Linked DNA regions of Homo sapiens: regions 1, 2, 3 and 5 are each linked to region 4. Evidence: promoter capture Hi-C in human tissues and cell types (Jung and others, 2019). All regions are on one chromosome and are shown on one strand. Each heading gives the region's core, a stretch centred on a gene start or on the middle of the fragment in contact. The rest is flanking DNA. Distances are from core to core; before and after follow the strand shown. Region 1 holds the start of ZNF7 (zinc finger protein 7). Region 2 overlaps ZNF34 (zinc finger protein 34). Region 3 overlaps ZNF251 (zinc finger protein 251). Region 4 holds the start of VPS28 (VPS28 subunit of ESCRT-I). Region 5 holds the start of ZNF251 (zinc finger protein 251).

What was found. Contacts are between HindIII fragments. The study calls those that stand out against the background at their distance.
Region 1: the fragment with the promoter of ZNF7 here is called in contact with the fragment with the promoter of VPS28 in region 4 in 1 of the 25 tissues and cell types used here (spleen).
Region 2: a contact is called between a fragment that was not itself captured here and the fragment with the promoter of VPS28 in region 4, in 1 of the 25 tissues and cell types used here (dorsolateral prefrontal cortex).
Region 3: a fragment that was not itself captured here is called in contact with the fragment with the promoter of VPS28 in region 4 in 3 of the 25 tissues and cell types used here (dorsolateral prefrontal cortex, lymphoblastoid cells and spleen).
Region 5: the fragment with the promoter of ZNF251 here is called in contact with the fragment with the promoter of VPS28 in region 4 in 5 of the 25 tissues and cell types used here (IMR-90 fibroblasts, dorsolateral prefrontal cortex, lymphoblastoid cells and 2 more).

What each region holds. Positions count from the first base shown.
Region 1 is chr8:144,826,253-144,828,952 of GRCh38, forward strand. ZNF7 (zinc finger protein 7) reads left to right here and starts at 1,308. Exons shown (of 5, transcript NM_003416.4): 1 at 1,308-1,357. It overlaps LOC100130027 (a long non-coding RNA gene), which reads right to left and starts at 788. Exons shown (of 5, transcript NR_147501.1): 1 at 1-788. RefSeq lists a silencer at 499-1,628 and enhancers at 960-1,485, 1,486-2,011, 2,012-2,537. The HindIII fragment of the contact is 13,991 bases long and covers 1-2,700 here.
Region 2 is chr8:144,773,894-144,776,593 of GRCh38, forward strand. It overlaps ZNF34 (zinc finger protein 34), which reads right to left. Exons shown (of 6, transcript NM_001286769.2): 6 at 1-712. Among named protein-coding and RNA genes, the nearest start is that of ZNF34, 12 kb to the right of the region's middle. The HindIII fragment of the contact is 3,662 bases long and covers 1-2,700 here.
Region 3 is chr8:144,727,470-144,730,169 of GRCh38, forward strand. The region is part of intron 4 of ZNF251 (zinc finger protein 251); the gene reads right to left. Among named protein-coding and RNA genes, the nearest start is that of ZNF251, 27 kb to the right of the region's middle. The HindIII fragment of the contact is 6,507 bases long and covers 1-2,700 here.
Region 4 is chr8:144,427,121-144,429,820 of GRCh38, forward strand. VPS28 (VPS28 subunit of ESCRT-I) reads right to left here and starts at 1,428. Exons shown (of 10, transcript NM_016208.4): 1 at 1,369-1,428. It overlaps TONSL (tonsoku like, DNA repair protein), which reads right to left. Exons shown (of 26, transcript NM_013432.5): 26 at 1,655-2,216. The coding sequence ends at 2,023. RefSeq lists a silencer at 1,254-1,603. The HindIII fragment of the contact is 10,135 bases long and covers 280-2,700 here.
Region 5 is chr8:144,754,144-144,756,843 of GRCh38, forward strand. ZNF251 (zinc finger protein 251) reads right to left here and starts at 1,388. Exons shown (of 5, transcript NM_138367.2): 1 at 1,262-1,388; 2 at 553-660; 3 at 49-178. The coding sequence starts at 585. All of the region lies in intron 2 of LOC107986986 (a long non-coding RNA gene), which reads left to right. The HindIII fragment of the contact is 22,211 bases long and covers 1-2,700 here.

The DNA.
Region 1 (2,700 bases), core at 58-2,557, 400 kb after region 4:
CTGTGTTACCCTGGTGTGCCCCCCTCACCTGCAGCAGGCCAGGTTGGGGCATAGGGTTGCCGGCCCCTACCAGCCCTGGGGGTCTGGAGGGCGGCTGGGGAAGCAGACCCCCTGTCCTTCCCTATCCTTCGCGACATGCTCCCTGAGCAGCTGCAGTCCACTTAGATGACCAGAGAGGATGTGGGGCTGAGGGAGCCGAACTCGGGGCAGCAGGGGCGGGGGTGGGAGTGCCGGGATCATCCGCACCGGGAGAGGCGAGGCCGGCGTCTGTTTTTCACCTGGGCCTCCCTGGGGGGCTGGGGGCTGCCTGACTCTTCCCTCCTTTGGTTTGCGCAAGTTTTCCCGCGCGGGTTCGGATCAACACGCCGGGGGAGCCCGGCTTACGTCCCTCCTGGACCCCCGCCCCGTTCTTCCCGTGGGGAGGGGCGCGTCAGGCGGACCTGGCACCCTCCGGCTGCTGGGCTTCGCCGGGAGCCACGCGGGGAGGTCCAGGCAGTCGGGACGCAGGCAGCGTCCTCGCCGAGGCTGCGAGTCCGTGGCCGTCCGGGGGAGGCGCGCAGGCTCTGCCGGACGCAGAAGGAACCCGAAGGAGGCGGGGTGGAGGGCGGTGCGGGGCCGGGGAGGGGCGAGGCGAGTGGCGAGTGGACGCCGGGCCCGGCCTCGGGCAACTCCGAGGGGCGCCCTTCCTCGGGGTCCCGGAGGCTCTGCGACCCCGCGGCCGCTCCAGCCGCTCACTGGGGACAAGGCCCGAGCCAGGCGTCTCCGCGAGGCGGGGTCCATAGCGCGCCCAGCAGGCGCCTCCTGTCGCAGGGACGCGGGGGAGCGGCGCCTGAACAGCCTCGGTGGGAACCAGCGCCCGAAGCTGGTGATCCGGGGTGCGCAGGGCCCAACCGGGCGATCCCCTGGATCTCCGCCAGCCTCGCCCCGACTCCGCTCCTCCCACCCGCCAGCGAGTCCGCAACTCCCGGCCCCGGCCCGCGTCCCCAGCTCCAGGCCCCGGCCCCGCCCCGCCCCTGCTCAGGCACCGCCCACTCCGGGCTCTGGGCCCTCCTCTCCCTCGCGGCTCCGCCCCCTGCCCGCCTCTGACTGTACCCCGCCCCCAGGCGCCAGCCCCGCCTATCTGGGCTTCTGGTCCCGCCCAGGTTCTTGTCCCTCGGGCCCCAGCCTCGCCCCTCCTCGGCTCTGACTCCACCCCTTCTCCGGAGCCTGGGAGGCGGGGCTGAGAACCACAGAGATGGCCGGGCCTCCGAGCGGCCCAGGGCGGCCGGAAGTTTGCGGGGCGGGGCGGACGCGGGTGGCCAAGGCCCGTTTCCGGCGGCGTCGCGCGTTTGCGAGCCTCGGGTGGTCCTCAGGGAGGGTGAGTCGGCGCGGCGGGCGCGGACTCGGGTTGCCCTCGGTCCGAGTGATCCCTGGTCGCTTCCTTAGCCCTCCCGCCTTCGGCATTGGGGTCCCCGCGTCCCCCGGGCCTCCAGGCGGGAAAGCGCGGGGGCTTTGCGGGGCCTTGAGCGCCTGGTGTGGGAGGTGGTCGAGCCCAGCCACCCTCCCCCGCGGCGGCGCGAGGTGGGCTTCGTTTGGCCGAGTCTCGCAGCTCCCCGCAGACCCCGCTCGTGGCGGCCACGGTGTCCGGGGCCTGAGTAAGGCGAGCTCCAGCTGCGGCCTTTTCTTCAGGCCTGGGTCTACTCCCGGGGCCCTGACTCCTCCTGCGAAATCACCTCCTTCTAGAGCCTTTTCTCTTTCTATTTATTGCCCCGGAAGGCCTAGGATAAGTGACAGTGGAGGAAGGAACGGTGCCTTGGGTGGGGTAGGCTGTTTGTCTTCTCTAAATTCTGGTTGCTATTCCGGGCATTCCTACTGTCAGGAGCCAGGTGGGGGGATCAGCCTACCTGTGCCGGTGACCTGGGGCTTCCACCCACAAACCACTTTCTGGGCCAGAAGCTGCCATACGAAGACTCTTTTTCCCATTCCGACCTCCCGGGGGAATGCCTGGGCAGGTAGAGGGTCTGGGGTCATTGGCTTAATTGAGGTGAACGATTTATATCAGATTACATCCCTGTGCCTGGTTCCATCCTGGCGACAGGTGAGCTGGAGACTGGAATTTATGTACTTGAGGGCAGGGGTTTCCATGTCCACTCTTGTCTTCCCTACAGTTTGTCATTTTTGCTCCTGCCTTCTCCAACCTCCAGTCGCTCACTGCCTTCCCCAACCTCCAGTCGCTCACTGCCTTCCCTTGCTGCCGGGAATTTACCCACACTGGTTCATCCAACCCCATTTCTTCTTGCTTCAGGCCCTTTCACATGCTATTCCTGCTGCCTGGAGTGCTCTCTCCACCTCCATTACCTTGGCCGAGGTCCCTGGGGAAGTGACCCATTACACTGAACGTTCTAGTCTAAGTGGCTTTCATAGTTCCCTGTACTTGAGCGCTGTCGTGGTTGCAGTGTGCTTATTTGTGTGGTTATTTAACTCTTTCCTCCGCCAGACTGCTTCGTGAAGGCAGGGTCCTCGTGTCCACTACTGTATCCCCATTACTCAGTGCCTGGCACGTGGCATCCACTTCTTACGGCTTTGTGGAGTGAGTCACACATGCCACACACACATACACTCTAAAGAGGAACAAGAGTTCAGTGGGCCTCCTTCACTCAAGTGCCATGGCTGCTTCAGCCCAGCCCCATGTCCCTGCTAGAGAAATCTGGGGCTGGAGGT
Region 2 (2,700 bases), core at 53-2,552, 350 kb after region 4:
TAAATCAGGGAAGAGTAGGCGCTAAAGTGCTTCCCACACTCCCCACACTTGTAGGGTTTCTCCCCAGTGTGAATCCTCTGGTGCTTCATGAGGTTGGGCCTCCGGGTGAATGTCTTCCCACACTCGTCACACCGGTAGGGAATCTCTCCTGAGTGCATCCTTCGGTGATTGATGAACTCGCAGCTCTGGCTGAAGGCTTTCCCACACTCATCACATTTGTAGGGCTTCTCTTCAGTGTGAAGCCGCTGATGCTTGACAAGGTTGGCACTGTACCTGAATGTTTTCCCACAGTAACTGCAATAATGCAATTTTTTCCCAGTAGGAATTTTCTGATCTTCTTTAACAACTAAGTTTGCACTGAAGATTTCCCCAGAGTTACGAACTGTATTTGTTTTTTTTGACCTGTGTACACGCTTATGGTTGTTGAGATATGATCTCTGTTCAAAACTTTGCTCACATATATCACATTTGTGAGGTCTCTGATCAGGAACAGGTCTTGACAGCAACCTGAGGTTTCCCCCAGACTCCCTGCTGCTCTCCCCGTTGGTCAGTGTGACTGCCCTGGGGCCTCTCTGCTCCACTAGCTTTTCCAGGCTCCCCTCTGACTTACTGATGTGGTCACAGGCTTCTACTGGCTCAGATCCCTGGGGATCTTCCTCACCAAATGTCTCCTGTGAAGTCAACTCCTTGTACTCAGTTCTGGTCCCAAGAGCTGAAACAAAAAACAGAACATCTAAGGGTCACCTGCTCTGACTCTGGAAGGTAGGCATGAGATGCTGCTGGCCACCTGTGGGGAACCAATTTGATCATCTCCAAAGTCCCAACAGCCTTGCAAAGATAAGAGCCTGGAGCTCAGAGGCTTATGCAGCTCACCTGGGGCCACAGTCATACAGCCCTTCAAACATTCACTCCTTCCTTCCTTGATTTGACACTCACACAACAAACCTCTCCTGGGTGGCCACTCCCCAAGAATGGAGAGTGACAAGTACCCAAGTGGGGTCCTGCCACATGGCCGCTCAGAGACTGATACCAGCAGCCACAGTCAGGATTGATTAGTCCTGGCCCCTACTTGCCAGCTGAGTCACCTGAGGCAACAACTCACCTACCTTTCTGAGCCTTGGTTTCTCCATCTGTGACCACATGGCACTCTCATGAGAACAAAACAGATTAATACAACAGACTGACCATGAAGCACTCAGCCCAGTGCCCAGCACAGTGAGTTCCAGGTGCAAGCACCTCATGACTGCCACTTTCATTACTGCTCTCTTCCTAGTCCTAAGGGGTCTATCCTTCCACCCCTTGCCTGGCTCTGCACTGCACATGAACAGGTGCTGAACACCAATATCTGCCAAGATGTGCAGCAGACGGTGCTCACACACTACTACAGGAGCCTATGCTGGAGCTGCTGCTTTGGAGGACGGCTTGGCAACCTTATCTAAAGCTGATCTATGAAAATGCTGACTCAGTGACTCTGCTCCCAGGTACACACGCGCCAGAAATGTATTCCGGGCGCCAGAGAGAGACATGCACAAGAGTGTCCACAGCAGTTCCTGTACAACCCCAAACCTGGACAACTGAATGTCCTCCACAAGTAGAAGGGAACATAAGTTGTGGTGTGTTCATACAATAGAACAATGGCAACCAAACAGACCACACTGCTACTCCATGAAACACAAGCAGCTCTCACAGTGTTCAGCAAAAGATGCCCTGTGTGAGTCTACACAGAAAAATCCAAAGGAGGAAGCAGCCTCTTGTGACAGGAGTCAGAAAGAAGACCCCTGTGGGGAGCAGTGGGAAATGGCAGAGGAGAGCCAGGGAGCTCCTGGGGAGCGGAAACAGTCTGTATTTTAATCTGAAGGATGATTTTTCATAAAAATTCACTGAGTTATAAACTTAGGGTTTGTCCTATTTCTATAGATATTTACATTCAAATAAGCAAATTTACAAAATAAGAAGTCCTTTGAGCCAGCAGTTCCTTCCTCAGACACCATCAGACACATGCAAAAAGGTGACCATCAGAGCTATCCAATCTTTTGGCCTGCACTTGCACTGAAGACATGACTGAGACTCATGCGCACAGAAATGGAAACACATTCCGTGTCTGCACAGCAGAACACACTATCATTTCTGTTAAGAAGCAGTGTCAGCCAGGCACAGTGGCTGTAATCCCAGCACTTTGGGAGGCCAAGGCAGGCGGATCACAAGGTCAGGAGCTTGAGACCAGCCTGGCCAATACGGTGTAACCCCGTCTCTATTAAAAATACAAAAATTAGCCAGGCATGGTGGCGTGCACCTGTAGTCCCAGCTACTGGGGAGGCTGAGGCAAAAGAATTGCTTGAACCTGGGAGGCAGAGGTTGCAGTGAGCCGAGATCACACCACTGCCCTCCAGCCTGGGCAACAGAGCAAGACTCTGTCTCAAAAAAAAAAAAAAAGAATGGCTCACACCTATAATCCCAGTACTTTGGGAGGCCAAGGTGGGAGGATCGCTTGAGCCCAGGGGTTTGAGACCAGCCTGGTCAACACAGTGAAACCCTGTCTCTACTAAAAATACAAAAATTAGCCAGGCATGGCGGCAGGCACCTGTAGTCCCAGCTACTCAGGAGGCTGAGGCAGAATCGCTTGAAACCAGGAGGTGGAGGTTGCAGTGAACTAAGATTGCGCCACTGCACTCCAGCCTGGGTGACAGAGCGAGACTCTGT
Region 3 (2,700 bases), core at 55-2,554, 300 kb after region 4:
AACGTGCTGCAGCTTCTCCATCAGCAGTGGCTGCTTCACCTTGTGCTTTTGTTATGGAGACTACGTCTTTCCTTAACCCTCATGAACCAACCTCTGCCAGCTTCAAGGTTTTCTTCTGCAGCTTCCTTACCCCTCTCAGCTTTCGCATAATTGAAGAGAGTTGGGGCCTTGCTCTTGAGGCGAAGCTTTGGCTTAAGGGAATGTGTCTGGTTTGATCTTCTATCCAGACAGTTTGAGGGGGACTGAAACTGTCTCCATATCAGCAATAAGGCTGCTGTACCTTCTTGTCATTCATATGTTCACCAGAATAGCACTCCCAATTTCCTTCAAGAACTTTACTTTTTACTGTTATTTTCTTTTTGAGACAGGGTCTCACTCTGTCACCCAGGCTGGAGTGCAGTGGTGTGATCATAGCTCACTGCAGCCTCAAACTCCTGGGCTCAAGCGATCCTCCTGTCTCAGCCTCCTGAGAAGCTGGGACTACAGGCTTGATCCACCACGCCTGAAGAAGTTTTGCTTTGCATTCACAACTTAGCTAACAGACGCAAAAGGCCTGGCTTTGGCCTGTCTCAGTTTTCACCGCACCTTCCTTACTAAACTTGGTCATTTCTAACATTTGCAATAAAGCGAGAGGTGTGTGACTCTTCCTTTCATTTGAACACTTATAGGCCATTCCAGGGTTATTAATTGGCCTAGTTTCGATATTGCTGAGTCTCAGGGAATATGGAGGCCCTAGGAGAGAGAGAGGGAGGTAGGGAATGGCTGATCAGTGGGTCAGGACAGCCAACACTCATCGATTAAGCTCACCGTCTCATACAGGCAGAGTTCATGGTGCCCTTGAAACAATTACAATAGCAACATTAAAGATCGCAGATCACAGAGCACCATAACAGATATAAAAAAAAGGTTTGAGGCCAGGCGCAGTAGCTCATGCCTGCAATCCCAGCACCTTGGGAGGCCGAGACGGGCGGATCACGAGGTCAGGAGATCGAGACCATCCTGGCTAACATGGTGAAACCTCATCTCTACTAAAAATACAAAAAATTAGCCGGGCGTGGTGGTGGGCGCCTGTAGTCCCAGCTACCCGGGAGGCTGAGGCAGGAGAATAGCATGAACCCGGGAGGCGGAGCTTGCAGTGAGCCGAGATCGCGCCACTGCACTCCAGTCTGGGCGACAGAGCAAGGCTCCGTCTCAAAAAAAAAAAAAAAAAGGTTTGAAATACTGCAAGAATTACCAAAATGTGACACAAAGAAGTGAGCACGTGCTGTTGAAAATGGCACTGACAGACTTGCTCAACACAAGGTCGTCACAAACCTTCAATTTGTAAAAAAAAATGTTCGCCAGGCGCAGTGGCTCGCACTTGTAATCCCAACAGTTTGGAGGCCCAGGGGGGCAGATCACCTGAGGTCAGAAGTTTGAGACCATCCTGGCCAACATGGTGAAACCCTGTCTCTACTAAAAATACAAAATTAGCCAGGCATGGTGGCGCGCGCCTGTAATCCCAGCTACTTGGGAGGCTGAGGCAGGAGAATCACTAGAACCTGGGAGGCGGAGGTTGCAGTGAGCTGAGATCGCGCCATTGCACTCCAGCCTGGGCGACGAGCAAGACTCCATCTATGGAAAAAAAAAAAAAAAAAAAGCAGCAGTATCTGCAAAGCCACAACAAAGTGAAGTGGAATAAAATGAAGTGTGCCTGACCTATATTCATGTTAAAATTTAAAAATACGAGTTTACTCCTAAAGCTCCTGGTTATAAAAGTCAAAAGAAAAATTGGGATAAAAACGAAAACAAAATTTTATGTCATTTTCTCCATGCGTAGTGCCCTTTTAGCAAGCATATAAGATTCCTTTTATTTATTTATTTTTATTTTTTTTTTTTTTTTTGTGAGATAGAGTCTTGCTCTGTCGCCCAGGCTGGAGTGCAGTGGCGCAATCTCGGCTCACTGCAAGCTCCGCCTCCCGGGTTCACGCCATTCTCCTGCCTCAGCCTCCCGAGTAGCTGGGACTACAGGCGCCCGCCACCACGCCCGGCTAATTTTTTGTATTTTTAGTAGAGACGGGGTTTCACTGTGTTAACCAGGATGGTCTCGATCTCCTGACCTCGCCATCCACCCGCCTCGGCCTCCCAAAGTGCTGGGATCACAGGCGTGAGCTACCGCACCCGGCCTAAGATTCCTTTTAAATGCCAGGGTCCTCCCTGATGTCTCATATCAACGTAACTGCCCGCTTAAAAATAGATCTCTTGGGATGGGCATGGTGGCTCGCGCCTGTGATCCCCGCACTTTGGGAGGCTGAAATGAGAGGAGAGCTTGAGCCCACGAGGTGGAGGCTGCAGTGAGCTGAGACCGCACCTCCGCACTCCAGCCTGGGCAGCAGAGTGAGACCCTGTCTCTGAAGAACCAAAACCAAAACAGATCTCTCATCAGGCTATCAACAGGTTACATGTGTTTTTTGTGACTACTCAGATAAAGATGTTCAATTGTAACAGTTTCTCAACATTGCAGGCAGGGCTGAGCCCACCCAGGGCTGGCGTTGTTCCCAGGAGCGGGTGCCCTCACCCACCAACTCGAGGCCGCTCACTCACTGTGCAGCTGTATGGCAGGCCCAGCAGTGCCTCTCCCTTCGTACATCACCAGAGTCGGCTGAAAAGTGCCAAAAGAGAACTCAGGAACCAAACAGGGAAGTGGAGAGCCATGTTTTA
Region 4 (2,700 bases), core at 178-2,677:
GAAACCCTGTCTCTACTAAAATTACAAAATTAGCCGGACGTTGTGGCATACGGTTGTAATCCCAGCTACTCAGGAGGCTGAGGCAGGAGAATCGCTTGAACCCAGGAGGTGAAGGTTTCAATGAGCCAAGACCGAGCCACTGCACTCCAGCCTGGGAGACAGAGCAAGACCCTGTCTCAAAACAAACAAACGAACAACAAAAAAAACCGACAAAAAAAGACAGCCCGTAAGTGCCAGGTCCTGGAGACCCAGGGCTCCATGAAGAGCTCTCCTAAGCTCAATAATGGTGAACACACAGGGTGCTATAGGGGCTACCAGAAAAAGTGAGGTACTATGGACACTCAGGAGAGCGGGGCGGGGGCTGCAGTGGAGTGTGGTTCAAGCTGGAGGTTGAGGGAGGTTATGAGGGCGGCAGGCAGCTGTTTGATGGCCCACGAGGAGAGTTTGGGGCACAGGAAACAACACACTTAACAGCCCGCCTTTAAGTAGGCATGAACTTGGAGGAACCAACAAGCTGAAGGTGCAGCTTCTCGAAAGAGGGGGTCCTAGGGAATGAAGATGGAGAGGTGCCCCTAGTTGGGCAGCGAGCTGTGGAGAAACAATGGGAGCGGGGCCCGTGGGAGGGTCCTGCCTAGCACGGAAGCTGGGCCAGCTCCAGACGTTCTCTCTTTGAAAGTGGAGCCGTCAGATCCGCCGAGGGATTTGAGATAGGATTAAAATAAAGGAGTTACGAACGACACCCCTGTTTTTGGCCCAATGGGCCGGGCAGTAAGATAAACTCAGACGGAGAGGGGAGGAGGAGCGGGCCTGGCGGGCAGGCGCAGGAAGCTCTCGGTGGAGAGGCCCGGGAGAGCAGCGCTGAGCCGGCTAACTGGGAGTGGACGGTGCTACCGGGGATGGGAGAAGAGCAGAAGTGAGGGAAGGCCGCCCGCGCCGAAGCCCTGGGGCGCCCCAGCCGAGGAAGAGCCGGGAAAGGGCGTCGCCGCTCATGTAGGTAGGGAACGTCTGGGTCAAGCTCTCCGAGGGTCGAGGCCATTGCGAGCCGCGGGGTGGGGACCGAGGCTGCTCGGCAGCCGTCACGGAGCCGCCAGGCAGGAGAGCGCCGAGGAGCCAACCGCCCCAACCACGCAGGAGCTTCTGCCTAACAGCGAAAGCGGACGTTCTGCGGCCACAAGCAAATGTGCAAAACAACCTCGCAGAGTGGACAACGAGCAAGGAAAGCCAGTTTCTAGAACATGCCAATAACGTGACTTTTGCGGCGCTCAGCCGAAGCTGTGCCGGGGCCTAGGCGCGCCCAGAGGGTGCCAGGCCCTGAGTCGCCTCTCCCCACTCTGCCCCTTCCCCGCCCACCGGCCGGGCCCCGGGTACCTGGACGGCTCGCGGTCGGGAAGATGGCGCCGGGGGCGGGGTGCGCTCGGTCAGCGACTCGGCATTCGCCCCTCATGTCTGCGCCTGCGCGCGTCGGGGCGACCCCCCGCCCCTCCGTCCCCATCGGCAGCTCGGCGCTCAGCCCTCACGCCTGCGCCCGCGCCCGCCCGGACTTCGGGACATTCCCTCCAGCCGCGCAGCCCCCGGGACGTAACCGGCGCAGCAGACTCGAAGCCCGGTCTTACCCCGCCCACCCGCCTGCCAGGCAGCCACGGGGAGGGAGGCAGCAGCTTCATTTATTTTATTTTTTTTTTTTTTTGAGACGGAGTCTCGGTCTGTCGCCCAGGCTGGAGTGCAGTGGTGCGATCTCGGCTCACTGCAAGCTCCGCCTCCCGGGTTCACGCCATTCTCCTGCCTCAGCCTCCGGAGTAGCTGGGACTACAGGCTTCCACCACCACGCCCGGCTAATTTTTGGTATTTTTAGTAGAGACGGGGTTTCACCATGTTAGCCAGGATGGTCTCGATCTCCTGACCTCGTGATCCGCCCGCCTGGGCCTCCCAAAGTGTTGGGATTACAGGCGTGAGCCACCGCGCCCGGCCAGCAGCTTCATTTATTAGGGGCTTCGGTGAGGGTGGGGAAAGGCAGCGCCAGGGTCAGAGGCGCCGAAAGAAGAGCTTGGAGCCGTGGTCCAGCGTGCACTCGCCGGGGCCCGGCCGACTGGGCTGCAGCTGGCGCAGGGCGTCCCTGTCCTCAGCGCAGAGGCGTCTGCTGCACAGCTGCAGTTCCCGGAGCTGCGCGGCTATCTTGTCCCACAGGCCCAGGCCCAGGGGACCCTGGACGGCGCAGCCTGCGGAGGGGAAGAGGGCAGACCTCAGCGCTGCGGGGGCCGGCGGCGTCCTGGTGCCCGCGGCAGGCTCCAGGGAACAAACTCGCTTTCGCTGAGGGCCCCAGGGCTGTAGCGAGGGGCAGTGGGCAGAGCTCCGGAGAGGCCCCATGACTCTCCAGGAAGGGGTGGGATCATCTGCACAGCCAGCGGTCAGACAGGAGGAAGGGTGGCTCCCTTCTTTACCTCTGACAGTGCCCGATCTCAAAGTCCATGCCTACACGTCAGTCTCCCCACCCATAAGAAGGACATAATGGATCTGCTTGCAAATCTGTACATCGTGGGCCTGAGTGGATCAAGAGAACACTAAGCTCAGGAATTCAGGGAGCTGGGTGGGAAGGTACAGATGCCAGGAACTGAGGTGTGGGGAAGGGGTCTCACACCAGCACTCGGGGGCCTTCCTGGAAAAGGCGGCCTGGCCCTGGGAGGTGAAGGGGAGGGGGCACAG
Region 5 (2,700 bases), core at 138-2,637, 330 kb after region 4:
TCCTCAGAGGCCCCCACTGCGAACCAGGCCAAGTGCAGAGAGCCTCACCCAGAGAGGCCACGTTCCCATAGTTCTCCAGCATCACATCCCGGTAGAGCGCCCGCTGCTGGGGGCCCAGCTGCCGCCCCTCCGCCTGAGAGAAGTACACGGCCACATCCTGGAAGGTCAGCGGCATCTCCTGCAACAAAACATCGCCGCTGCCCAGGCCATGCCCACGGGGCAGCAGCCTGCACTAAAAGGGCCCTGACCTGGTGGGGCCCCACTACCCAGGGCCCTGCTGTGGTCAGTATGAACTGTGTATCAGCAGGTCCCTGATGGGGCAGCTGAGAGCGCTGAGGACCAGCCAACTTCAGCTACACGGGGACCCAGCTGAGCTCAGAGCCCCTCTCCCTGCAGGAGGGCGAGTCTACCTCTCAGAACCCTTTCCTCACGGTTGCTATGAGCCCCTGGCTGGCCTTACCAGTTGCCGGGCTCACGGCTCCAGAGGAGAGTAGCTTCTGACTGGGATGGGGATGAAGATGAAGAGGTGGGCAGGAAGGAGGGTTAACTCACCTGGTGCCCTGGAAGCTGGAATGTGGCTGCCATTCTGTGTGCATGGGCTGCTGTGGTTTCCAAGAGAAGACAGGAGACTGCCCTGGCCTGAAGTCTCCCCGAACTTACCTTCAGTGGGGAGAACTCAGGCTCAGCCCCATTCAACCAGGGGTGTGGAAGGATGGCCAGGAGGCAGAAGCTGATTGCTGCTGTGGCCTCCTGGGTCGCGGGAGGCAGGTCACTATGCAGCACGGGCCGACGTGCCCTACTGCTCAGTGACTCCTGAAATCCCAGAACGGCCAGAGCCAGAGCCCGGGGGGATCCAGGGACGCCCGGCTAAGGGGTGAAAGCTGGCAGTTCCCGTGGTCCAGACCTGCTGAAGGCCCTGGAAATGGGGTGCAGGGCCGTTCTACCTGCCTGGCCAACCTGGGGCAAAGAGCCACGTGAGGGTGCAGCCTCACCAAGGCTGAGGACGTGAGAAGGAGGCCGCGGGGATGCTGCCGAAGGCCCCAGGCTCCGGGGAGAGGCCGGAAGCCAGCTGTGGTCCTCAGTCCAGCCTTCTAGGGCCGCGCCGCGGTCGCCTCCTCCCGGCCTCTGCAGCCCGTCGGTGGCTCCCGCGGCACCCAGAACAGGCTCCTCCTGGACTGGCCGCCGCCTCCCCGCGCCCTCCCCGCGCCCTCCCCGCCTGCCTGCCCGCTTGGCGCTCCTTCCTGGTCCGACACTGCCCCACCTGTTTGCTCGACCCGGGGAAGCCACCGAGGAAGCGCCGAGGAGCTGCGCAGTCGCACCGAGCCCGGAACGGACCCTCCCACAGAACCGGGTCCAGAGCCGGGGAGGGGGCGGGCTAGGATGAAGAGGGCGGGCCGGGCCGAGCTGCGCACACGCAGGCTTCCCCGCCCCCTGCGGGGCCTCAGTACGCCTCCGAGAACGCCGGGAACCGGAAGCCAGCCGCGGTTCCGCCCGGATTCTTCCGGGGCCGCTCTGGGATGACTGGAGGCCTGCGCCGTCTATGGTCGGGGAGGGGGAGAGCCCACGGCAGCTGAGCGGAGGGTCTGGCGCGGTGACGCTGCGCATCCGGGCCGCGCCGCGCTCGCCCCGACCCTAAACCCTCACCTGAACCCTAACCCCGCTGGGCTCCCGGCTCCCCCGTCGGTCACCATACATCGTGTGTCCCGATTCACCATAACCACCAGAAAGTCGCTTATGAAGATGTTACAATTATCGGGGCTCAGAACACAACGCCCCAAAATGAAGGCCTGGGAGGCAGTTTCCCTCTGACCTTCCCAGGCCTCCAGTCTCAGTTCTTTTCTCCCGCGAGGCTCCTCACAGAGTGAATCCCTTTTACCCAAGGCGAGTCCCAGAGGCCAGACCCCCAAAGCCAGCCACAAAACCTAAAAACACGACTCTGATGTTCCCCCCGCTTTTCTGTGTGAAAACTGGCGGTAAAGGCCGGGCGTGGTGGCGGGCGTCTGTAGTCCCAGCTACTCCGGAGGCTGAGGCGGGAGAATCGCTTGAACCCGGGAGGCGGAGGTTGCAGTGAGCCGAGATCGCGCCACTGCACTCCAGCCTGGGTGACAGAGCGAGACTCCATCTCAAAAATAAATAATAAATAAATAAATAATCCATTTATTTGCCTTTTCTCCAAAAATCTGCCTTTTATGAGTTGGCTTTCAGTGAACCTTCAGAGGGCAAAGAGGAACTTTCCCTTTGGCCCCTACACAATAAAGCATGGTTGAAAAAATAGCACTTGATAAAGGTGAGGAGACCAGCTTAGGAGCAGGGGGAGAAGGAAAGGAAAGCCAAGCCATCTTGTCACCCAGAATATAGTGTAGGCCCTGTACACTGTGTTAGAATCAAGGCAGAAATTTTATATCTGAACTTGAGACGATCAACGAGGATGGAGAATGTCTAGAAGTCTAAAGCACCATGCAAAGTCACACATGATTAAGAAGATGCCTTACATTATTAATATCAGTGCTGGGGAGATTGTGGAGAATTACGCACTGCTATGCTTGAGGAAGCGTGTTTAGTACAATGTTGAAAATGAATTAAGCTGTACATAAAGAGCCTTAAACACTTCAATTAATCTAGGAATCTATCCTATGGAAATAACAAAAATGACAAAGAGAAGGGTGCCCATTCCAGAGTTTGTTGTGTGTGTGGTTTTTT